2 separate regions of the Homo sapiens genome follow, and region 2 is linked to region 1. The links are contacts of gene promoters, found by promoter capture Hi-C in human tissues and cell types (Jung and others, 2019). All regions are on one chromosome and are shown on one strand. The core of a region is centred on a gene start or on the middle of the fragment in contact, and the rest is flanking DNA. Distances in the headings are between cores, read along the strand shown.

Region 1 (6,037 bases), core at 1,602-4,101:
AGTCCAGGCCCTGGTGACTGAAACAGCCTGTGGCTCTGCCGGACCCTTTATGGGCCCATGGTTAGGGCGGGAACCAATCACAGCCTGGAGCCCAGGAGGGAAGAGGCAGCCTGGGGATTTGGGTGCTGCTGTCTCTTTGTCAGCTTCCTGTCTAAGTCTGTTTTCAAGGGACTCCTGGTCTGCAGTTCTCTTTGTTCTGAGCCATTTACAAATAGATGCTCTAATTAAGGCTTTCTGAGGCGGCAATGATTGCCTTGTAAAACTGCTTTCTGCTTACCCAGGAATGGTACTCTGCATCTCACTAGCCGTGTACACTGTCCCTTTGCAAGGCCCTGCCAGGTGCCTGCAACCAAGACCCAGTCACCCTGCTAGCACAAAGTGAGGTGGGGGTGGCGCTTCCCTCCACCAGGCACTCGCTCGGTCCTCCCAACCTCCAGCAAGCTGTGGATTACCATTTATATTTCACAAGTAAGGACCCTGGGGGAAAACGCCTGTGCCATGGCACAAAGCTAGTAAGAGATATAGTTGGGCTTCGAATTGTGTCTTTTTATCTCCAGGGTCCATGCTATCTTCAGAGCCAATCAGGGCAGGGGTGGGCATGGTCATGGCTCCCCCATCCCAAGGAGGTCATGTGTCTACACAGAGCCCCTCGGTGGAGGGGTCCAACATGATCCAAGCCTGCTGGATTGAGACAGATGAGCCAGGTCAGAAGACAGCAGCGCAGTTTCCAGCATCGTGATGGAGAAATGCTTCACAGAGGGTTCACTGCCCTGCAGTCCTCAGCATTTCACCAAGAAACAGATCCCCCATAATCATTGGATATGTGTGGAGAGCATTCCAGGTGCTCACTGGTTCCAGTGTGGGTGGGTGAAGAGCCTGGTCTTTCTTGGCTGTCTAGCAGATGTTTGACCCAACCAAGACTGAACATGACAGCACCAGCCAGCCCAGCCTCCCTCAAAGATGCTCCCAAAATCCCACTAGCCACTCAGCTGCAGTCAGCCACCCCCAGGCCCCCCAGGTACCCTCAGGCTGTGCCTCCCTGGTGTGTCTTTCACACCAGGATCCCCTATCACACAGCCCACACCCCCAGAGTTCCTGCCCCAGACACAAGACTCTGGAAGCCTGTCCACAGGACCCAAGAAGAGAGGCTAGGAGAGTCCTTTTTTTGGATCCATGGCAGATGTCCAGCTCCCTAAGAGATTTCAACAGCACCATCGCCTGCCCTCCCTCAGGCCCACAGAAGATGGGCCCCTCTTCCATCATCCCCAGATCCCCACTCTGGGATATAACTGGCCCACTCATCCTGAGCGGGAGTGGGAAGGGCAAAAGATGAGAGTCACAGGAGGGTTACTATTAGCCCAGAGTGGGTCAGTGTTGGGTTGTGGCTGGGTCAGGACACAGGTCCATCAGTGGAGTCCTCCTCATCCTCTCCTGACGAAAGCAGTCCAGAGATGTGTGTTTGGAAGGGTTGATGGGCTCAGGTCCTCGGGTTAAGGCAAACCTCCTGGCTCGGTCCGACTGTCCATCCATCAAAGCCATTGCCTGTCCTAACCCAAAGGAACAAGGGCCCAAAGTAAGAGAGCTTGGCTTTAGGAACAGCCACATGAGCTAGCACCCTTCTCTCACCCAGTGTGTTCTCTGAGGTGAGAGAGTGATCTCATTTAAGGACCCTGCTGATGTCCCTCACCTCCCGCACCTTCCCTCCTTCCTGGTGAGTACATACACCCCAAGACCCCATCACTGAGCTTCCCTGCTGGGAACCTAAAGAACACCAATCAGCCTGGACATTGTGAGGGCCTTCCCCCCATCTGTGGCTTCTCATCTTTCCCCCTAGCCAAATGTTGGCTCCCCCACATGCATGCTACCTCCAAACACCCCAGGTCTCTGTAGGATTTCCAGAACCTAGCACAGTGGCTAGTGCATAGTTGGTGGGCACCAAATAAGTATTTCCTGAATAAATGAATAAATGAATAAATGAATAAATGAATACACATAGTCTAGTCTGCAAATCAGAGCCAGACTCTTTTCTGGTCATCTCTCAATCCTGTACTACCCCACCCCAATCCTCCTCAAGCCCAGGTCCCCACTCTCCTCCATGAGTCCCTGGAGCTCTGAGGTATTCCACACTCCCCGCTCCTGATCCCATCAGCAATGACACCTGGAACTCTGAAGCATAGCCCTGGCACTGTCCTGAACTCTCTGAATCAGTTTCTTCCATGTCCCAGATGGTGTCCCTGCACTAGGAATACCCAAAGTGCAAAGAACATGCCCTCCTCCCACCCCAAATCTCTACCCCCACTCCCATCCTTGACCAGGCTCTGAGCAGGAATAGGATAGGAGCGGCCAATCTTGACAATGAGGAAAGGAACCCGCCTTTGAGAAAAAGACAGGAAAGCCTACAGCAAGAGGTTGTCTCAGAGGCAGCCCCCTCCTTGGGACAGGCCAGCCACTCCACCCCAGGGCTTGGCCATGGGTCCAGGGCCCATAGCCTAGCTCTGCCCCTTTCAGAACAGGGTTCAGAGAGCAGGCTTTACCCCAGGTCACTGCACCCATTCCCCTCGCTTGGACCGCAGAATGCAACTAATGCTTTCAGGAACCCCTCTCCCCGCTCCACAGCAGTGCCAGTGGGAGGGGCAGGAGCAAGGAGGAAGCTTATAAAGGGCTTTGAAGATGAAACAGGGCCCGTGGCCAGGGATTGTTGATGCAGCCACACTGAAGAGGCAAGCAGGGTTCTAGCTTAAGAGGCCAGGGTGATGCCAAGCCAATAAAATTCAGCTATTGTCTCTTTGCTCCCTCTTTTAACACCAGCTGCCCCTGGCACATAAAAGGGCCTGCCATCAGCCAGGGAGCACAGGCCCTTGGTTCCATCCTCTGCCATCTACTCCACTGTTCAGACACCTCCTAACCTCCGTCATGACCTGTGGCTTCAACTCCATAGGCTGTGGGTTCCGCCCTGGAAACTTCAGCTGTGTCTCTGCCTGCGGGCCCCGGCCAAGCCGCTGCTGCATCACCGCCGCCCCCTACCGCGGCATCTCCTGCTACCGCGGCCTCACCGGGGGCTTTGGCAGCCACAGCGTGTGCGGGGGCTTCCGCGCCGGCTCCTGCGGACGCAGCTTCGGCTACCGCTCCGGGGGCGTGTGCGGACCCAGCCCCCCATGCATCACCACCGTGTCGGTCAACGAGAGCCTCCTCACGCCCCTCAACCTGGAGATAGACCCCAACGCGCAGTGCGTGAAGCAGGAGGAGAAGGAGCAGATCAAGTCCCTCAACAGCAGATTCGCGGCCTTCATCGACAAGGTGGGTGTCGTCCTGGATCACACCCTTCCTGAACCCCTACTCATGTTCAGAACTCAGGCTGGGCACTGACAGGGAAGTCAAAGGCAAGAACTTGCCCACAGAAGTTCCCAGGCCAAAGGGAAAGGTAGTCATACTTCTAGGACACAGACAGAAAGACAAAAATGGGACCGGGAGCTACCAGACTGATGGGGGAGATTAACTGAAAACACAAAAGCAGAACGAGGGGCAGAGCCTTCCACACTGAGTGATAATATCACCTAGTGAGCAAAGGACCACTGTGTGGGCGCTCAGGGCATTTGAAGCCAAATAACTGCTTAAATGCCAAGGAGATGCTGTCTCCATCAAGGCAGGGCTAATAAGTGTGGTGCTGGAAAACTGTCTGGAAGTGGGTCTCGTGGATGGCACAGAACTCTTTCTATACCACACAGTGATTTGGCCACTGAGCAGGGTCTAGAGTATTTTGTCCAAGCCACTGTTCCTGGGGCTCAGGATCCAGGGGTGAGCAAGAGTCATGGTCCCCATCCTCACAGGCTTTATGGGGAGGCAGGCAGTGCACAGTCTGGGTTTGGTTGAAACCATCTGTGTAGTCAGTGTCCAACTAGAGTTTGCAGCCACCTTCTCCACTGAATCCAGGCAACCACCATGTGGCAGTGATGTGAGAGACTGGGAGAAAAGGCTCTGACTAGGAACATGTTCTGGGGTTGGAAAGAGCCCTCCAGAGCCAAAACCTCAAGAGAGGAGTCACACTAGAGAGATGCCCACCAGAAAGGATCGGGAAAAAAAAATGTGGAATTTCTAATAGCATGAGAGACCAAGGATAGCATAAGATAGGACCTACCAAGGGTGTGGCCAAGTTATTAGACAAAAGAAGCTGAGTGGAGTAGTGGGCCAACCTCATCGCTGGGAGAGGGATGTTCCTATAATTGTCAAAGGGAGAGAAGACACCCCCTGCAGCGCAGAAGATCGGAGTTTGAGCTCTTCTCTGCCACTGTGAGCTCTCAGGCAGTCAGGGAACCTCCTTGGCCTCATCAGTAAAATAAGGGGGTTGGAGCACAGGACATTCCTACTCTCATATTGCAGGTGACTATTATTCTAATTGCATTGTTGTTGTAGGGTTTGAATAATTGGCACATGCTTTATTTTTCAACTTTTACAGTTTGCCTTTCTAAAAAGGTCCACCTGGCTTGGTGTGATTGAACAGCAGTAGCTGTTCAGTGTGGGGTGCCTTTCTGTTAAAGGGTTCTTTTAATCCTCATAGTAAGGTGAGCTTTAACCTCGCCACTCTACAGAGGAGGTGAGTGCTTTATCCAAGGGCACAATGTTAACAAGTGGCAGCAGAATCTGGACTCTTCAAGCATTTTCCATGACACCAGGTAAACTGACTTAGAAGAGATTAACTCCCAGGAAGAACTTCCAGGTGGTGAACTGGTTAAGCCCTGGTGGCATTTTTGAGAGAGATGACATAACGCCTTCCAGGGAAGACTCTGGGTCAGAGAGTTGGGGGCTTTCAGGCCCTCGTGCTGGGAACCCCTCTTTGTCCTCTGATGCTGCAAGAAGAGGTTCTTAGGCTCTGCCTCTGGGTGGCAGGTGCGCTTCCTGGAGCAGCAGAACAAGCTGCTGGAGACAAAGCTGCAGTTCTACCAAAACCGCGAGTGCTGCCAGAGTAACCTGGAGCCCCTGTTTGCTGGCTACATCGAGACTCTGCGGCGGGAGGCCGAGTGCGTGGAGGCTGACAGTGGGAGGCTGGCCTCAGAGCTCAACCACGTGCAGGAGGTGCTGGAGGGCTACAAGAAGAAGTGAGTGTGGGCAGGAGGGGTTCTGGGCACAGGAAATAGCATGGTGGCAGCTCCCTGAGCCCGGAGGAGTATCCAGTCTGCAGCTGGCATCTCTGCCTGAGAGTGGAGAAGAACCTGTACCCCCTGTTTGAGACACAGGGGTCCCTTGGGTGTGGGGGATGGAGGCTCAGCTTGTCTTTCCACCAGCAGATCAGGGAAACAATGCTCTCTCCCTTTCTCCATCCATTTTTCACAAAAACTTGTATTCCTGGGTCCCTTTGAGACCAGATCTCAAAGTCCTGGACATGTGTCTTCCTAAGTTTGCTCTCTCACTCAGCTAACACTATCTGATCACCTACCACATGCAGCACGCTGTGCTGGTGATAGTGACACAGGGCCACGCAAGCCACACAGTGCGGGTTCTTGTGGAGCCTGCAGTCTGCTGGAAGGCAGTCATGACAGAGCCACAGATCTAGCCCTTCAGCTACAAAGTGTGATATATGGTATGAAGAATACGCACTGGATCCTCAGAAGGAATCTGCTTTTGAGGGGTGGCCAGCTTCCTTCAGTAACATTCTCTCCATGGACTCCCCAGGCCCAGCATACCCCTCCCTCCCTGTCTCTGAGCTGCCTCCCACAGCTCAGGCCAGGAGGGGAGAGACAGAGCGAGGATCCCACCACCTGCAGCTGAGTGGGGGCAGGGGAGGGCTCGAAGGAAGAAAAGATGGAGACCTAGGCGAGAAAAACAGCACCTCCCACTCCCCAACCACACACATTCACACACTCAGCTTCCAGATCCTGCTCTCCCAACCTCCACCAAAACAGGGGAGTGAATTAGCCAGGCGTGGTGGTGGGCACCTGTAGTCCCAGCTACTCGGGAGGCTGAGAGGGGAGAATGGCATGAACCTGGGAGGCGGAGCTTGCAGTGAGCCGAGACCGCGCCACTGTGCTCCAACCTGGGCGAC
Region 2 (5,484 bases), core at 229-2,728, 37 kb before region 1:
TAATGACCTCTTTCTCCCTGACCCACCCTGCGTACTCCCAGCAGCCAAAACTCCATCCCAAACTCACTGCTCTCACCCTCTCCTGCCTGGCTCAAGTCACTTCCTGGCACATGTGTGTGCTTCTTATGCCAAATGCAGGCTTCCTCTGTCACCTCCTTCCCCAGCTACTCCTCAGCCCTGTCCAACCCCTCCATGCGGTGCTCATCCTCCCAGTCATGGACTCCACCCCAAGGAGACAAGTCTACCCTCTGAGGCAGCCCAGAGACACTCTCTCCTACATACCCCTTGTGGACACATAGGCCATCCCACATCCCTCCTCCCATTTGCCTTTGCTCAGGGCCCTCCTCTGCTCCCCAAAGCTACCACCCTCACCCCTACACCCCCCAGCCCTCCCCCGCCCCCATCATATAGTGTCTGGAACCCTGAGAATCTCTGGTTTTGTCTCTGCGGATCTGGGCCAGGGATGTCAACGGGTGTGTCTGGATCAAGCTGGAAATTCCATAAGGACAGGAAGTATCTCCTCCTGGCTCTGACCTCCCACTGAGTCCCAGGATGGGGCTCCAAGATATGCCAGGCCTGGGATGTGCTGGATGAATGCAGGCAGCTGGTGCAGCAGGAGGTAGAGACATCCAGTCCTCTTGCCCTCAGCTCCATCTCCCCATTAGCTGTCACCGTCATCAAGCAGGTGTCTGCCAGCCCCCTGCTGCCCCATCCTGCAGCCTCTTTCTCTGAGAGGAGAAGATAGGGCCTTGTGCATCCTCACTTTAGGCCCAAAGGGCTGTAGCCCCACTGGAGGCTGCTGGCTGCTTCTGAGTGCTTAGGCTGCTGCTCTGTTTGAGGTTTGCTGGCTGACACCTGGCGGGCCTCCTCCAGGTCTCTTGCCTGCTGCCTCCTTTTTCCCAGCTGTTTGGGCCCTGAGGGCATGGTGACAATCACAATAGGCCAACTTTCAATTTAGGGGACATCATTCACCCACAGGAAACGTTAAATCCCAGGGGCTGAAACATCAGGAAATGGAAATTTGAGCCCCAATTCTGCCAAGACTGCCAGGTCTCGGTGAGTCCTTGGGCAGGAAGTGGCTTTCATGCTTTGCATGTCAGTCTGGGGTCTATGAGATGAGTGGGTAGAGTCCTTACCAGGTCTGCTGCCTCCTATGGTTCTGAGATGCTACAGAGAGTCTATGCTTGGGGAAAACAGCTTCATGTTACCATGGATCTGGGCTGAGCAAAACAAAAATGCCAAATCTGATACCCAAAAAATAACGGCACCATGGATTGAAAAGTCAAACAGCCAGAACCTGGGAGATAGGAATGAATTTTTTAATACATTTCCGTGCTTTGTGTGCAAATACCATTCAACAGATTCAGCTGGCCAGAGGTGCCTTTTGCTTATGGGGAGGTAAGCCTCTGCCCCAGCCCTCCTTGCAGCCAACAGCAAAAACCCACCACAGCAAGCTCTTCTGGCTCAAAGGATGCTGGGGCTCCTGCAGCTCTCTCCTGATCAAAGAACTATTCCCCTCGGAATGCAAAGGGTACAGTCCAAGGGTAACTAAGGATTAACATTTTATTAGAAAGAAAAAATTCTGAAGAAGTCAAGTGACCTGAAATTGAGAGATCGAGGAAAAGCCAGAAGTTCAAGAGGCCCAAACAATAAAGTGGGCCATGGGAGTGATCCCAGATCTCTGCCCTGGGCTCCTTCCTGCTTAGAAACATCACAAACCAAGCTAACACCAGCATCAGAGAAAATCAGACCTGCTGTCTGTATTCAATTCTTATGTAAATGTTAGTGATATCCTTCCCCACAAACACACAAAGCTTCCAGAGGATTAGAAGTATGGATAATAACCTGTTCAAAGAAACAGGTACGCTTGGGATTTGTCATCTTTTCCTTTCTCCTGAAACCACTAACACTCCACCACCAATTCTCAACCCACTCTGCTTCAACCCATCCTCACAAACACCTATGCCCAAGAGAGTTCCTTCCCCCAGCCCGTGTCTCTAACTGTTCCCTGCTTCAATCTTTGGGATCTCAGAAAATAGAATTTTGTGTTACTACTCACATTAGCCAAGCATAGTGAGGAACACAAATTAACCATATTATCAAGAAAATTACCAAGTATGTTCTGTGTAGACACGGACATGACCATGTGGGACTTAATGTCCCCTTGTCTGGGTTATTCACACTCCTGTCTCTCTCTGGGAACATGAGCATTAGGAAGTGACTGTACTAAGTGTTTTGCTCATTGAGGATCAGAGCAACAACGACATGGGCACTAAGCGCCACACTCCTTGGGTGTAGGGACATGCCAGGCAGAACAAGCAATGGGAGAGGCTTATTTCACAGAGCCTCAGGCCACCTTCCTGCCTCCCCCAACCCCCAACCCCCAACCTGTGCATGCCTGGAAATCCCTGCTCATTTCCGCTTTGTTCAAAAACCGAGGGCTCCCCCATGTTGGCAGGGGAGCAGCCAGGGAGTGGGGTGAGGCGGGGACAGCATGATAAGCTTACGCATTAAAAATGAAGAAAATACCCAAGGCATTCATAGACAAATAGCCACCCTCCACCACCATCAAAAGGAAACACAGACCCTTCCCCAGTCCACAGTCCCATGCCCCAGGGCAGCCAATGCCCCCTGAGACACCGTTTCCTCCTCAGAGTCACTCTGGTGACCCTTTTAACCTGGCTTTACTGCTGCTCAAACTTGGTGGGATCCGGACTGTGATGGGCAGGCCCCTGCAAGACCCTTTGGTCCGGGAGACAGAGACAAGGGAAGCACCACCCTACTAAGATAGACCTCTGTCCGCCCAGGTCAAGTCACTGCCTGGCCATTGTGGTCACTGAAACAGAGTCTGAAGACATCAGAAGAACTGCGTGGCCGAGGAGAACCATTCAAAGGCTCTTCTCTGTTATGTCGCCCGTGCAGTGCTGGCCCTCTGGATGCGAGAGACTCGGGATGGGAAGGCGAGTCACCGTCCAGGCCAGCAGGACTTCCTCAGCCTCGGTGGTCCGCAGGCCACCTGGGTGGGGACAGTTTACAGTGTAACAAGGGGCCTGCAGGTCCTCCCTGCAGGTCCCCACTTTGGCCCCGTCTCCCGTTGAGGCCACCGTTGTCCCCCATCTCCCCACCCACGAGAGTCAGGGGCCACACCCCTCCTACCCCCACCCTCGCTTTGCTCACGGGTCGCCCCGTGCCCTGCCCTGCCTGCCTGCCCACCGTCACGTCCAGCCACCGGGTATCCTGGGCCCATCTCCAGATGCACGGCGCGGGCCCTGCTGGAGCCCGCGGGATCAGATCCACAGGGGCCTTGGGTCCTTGGCTCACGCAAGGTTCGCGCCTCGGCGCCTCTGGACTGGTTCCTGAGTCTTCTGCCGTCCGCCGGGATCCCGCCGCCTGCGCCTCTCTCAAACGCGCCCGCCCTCCACGCCTGGGCCCCGGCTGCCCTCCTTCACCCCTGCCCGAGACGCCCCGCGTCCCGCCCTTAGCCTCTAACCCCAGTGGTGAGGGGCCTAGGGGCTGGGCGCCGGGAGGGACGGGAGGGCGAGCTGGGCGCCACCTGCCCGCCGTTTTGGGGTAGTGGGCAGGGTGTTTGGGGGTTATTGGCTGCTCAGGGCTGCCCCGTGACATGCCCATAGCACCGTGGCCGGGGTCGGCGCCCTCCTCTCCGAAGTCTAGGTGCCTAGTGCGTCCTGGCACAGAGGTTTTATAAAGACCCTCGGGGGTCGCCCGTCTGCAGTGAATGGGATGTGGGGAGCGAACCCGCAGGTAGTCAAAAGGCCAGGCCCTGCTCCCCCAGACTCCACCCCTAGGCCGGGGTGCCAAGCCATTGCCTTGGCAGGTCCGGAGCTGGTACCAGAAGGTTTGGCAATGTGCGTGAGCACCATGGAAAAGAAAAGAAAAAAAAAACCTTTTAAAGACTTTTCTATGTCATGAGATCAGATATGCATTCTTGTGGCAAAATGTTTCCTACCCAGTCAGGCTTAAAAAAAAAAAAGTTCCAAATAAAATAAGGTGGGAGAAATAGTTCTTCCTGTACAACAAGTGAAAGAAAGTTGACCTTCAGAAACCCCTGTCTCCATTCATCACATACAGGTGAGACAGCCCTAGGTAGGACTTCTAGGGAACTGTCAGTTCAAGAGTAGGCCAGACATACAGTTCACCAATCAATTGCCTCTGACCAGGTTATCAGGGCAAATGCCTTCCAACCACGTGTCTGAGCTTTGATCTTGGGTTCCCATATAAAAGGCTTGTATTAACCGCCCCGTGGTACGATCTGTCCGAGATTCTTGGAGAACAGAACCTACGGGGAGATGTTTCTACAAATGCTTCTAGGAGGTCCCATGTGTCACCTTCCATCTCATCTCCAAAGTGTCAGACAGCTGGTGAAGGAGCATCAGGCAGAACTCCTCCGGAAGCATCTGATGAGCCGGAATGTTTAGCCTGAGGAGCAATTAGGGAAATGCTGTGGAAACATTTATGAACAGCAGCATTCCCTAGACATGAGTTTGAATTCTGGACTAGCTGGGTAACTTAGTAAAGCTACTTCTTTGAGCCTTAATTTATTTATACGTAAAATGAGGATAATATTCTGGTTGCTGTGAGAAATTAATGAAATACATATATAATGTGCCAGACACCTAGCAGGTGTTTAACAAATACAGGCTCCCTTCCTCACCCCTTTTGTACCTTTGCCCCCACCTTGCCCTGGTGTGTGTGTGGCCCAGACCATGGCTCTGACCTTTTAGCCGCAGACAAAGGAGAAATGCAAAGGGGCTAGACCGATCCAGTGAGAATCAGAGGGACAGTCACTTCCATGGCCAGAATTATCCGACCCTCCTCTTCCCTCTACCCACATCAACCTGTGGTTCTCAAGCTTTAGTTCTTCTAGGAATCACCTGGAAGCTTCTTAAAATACAGATTCCTGGGCTCATCCCTAGAACTTTTGATTGAGAGTTCCAGATGGAGCCCAGGATCTGCACATTTAGCAACTACCCCACAGGGATTCTGATGCAGGTGGTGGTCGGTGGACCACATTGTGAGATGCACCAAGACAGTCAGGGCTTTGGGTGGGTTGGGAAGACAATGAAGGAGGCAGGCATTAACTTGGTTACTAAGAAAAAGCCTTTCGCCATTGATATTTAATCAAGCACACCAAAAGAAAGAAGGAACCATACAGGAATCATGCAAATACAATGAACTTCCAGGCAACAAACAGTATAAACCCAGCTGATTAGCCTCCGTCAGTCTTTCAATCTGGACATATGAATAGTTGGGGGACTCTGGGAATATACAATCTCTCAGAGCAAGTGAGGAGCCCAGCTCCACACCCACACCACCCTTCCATGCTGAGGCAGCATCTGGAGCCCCTGTCATCCGAGGGCAAAGCGCAGAGATGTTCCCACATACTCCACACCCTCTAGCTGGCTCCGTTCCAAGAGGATCTGGCACACAGTCAGGACTTAATTTAACATCTGCTGGCCTGAAGTT

The links. Contacts are between HindIII fragments. The study calls those that stand out against the background at their distance.
Region 2: a contact is called between a fragment that was not itself captured here and the fragment with the promoter of KRT83 in region 1, in 2 of the 25 tissues and cell types used here (adrenal gland and pancreas).

The regions. Positions count from the first base shown.
Region 1 is chr12:52,318,212-52,324,248 of GRCh38, reverse strand. It overlaps KRT83 (keratin 83), which reads left to right and starts at 2,851. Exons shown (of 9, transcript NM_002282.3): 1 at 2,851-3,297; 2 at 4,885-5,093. The coding sequence starts at 2,914. The HindIII fragment of the contact is 13,306 bases long and covers 771-6,037 here.
Region 2 is chr12:52,354,327-52,359,810 of GRCh38, reverse strand. No RefSeq gene overlaps it. Among named protein-coding and RNA genes, the nearest start is that of KRT85, 10 kb to the left of the region's middle. The HindIII fragment of the contact is 6,815 bases long and covers 1-4,885 here.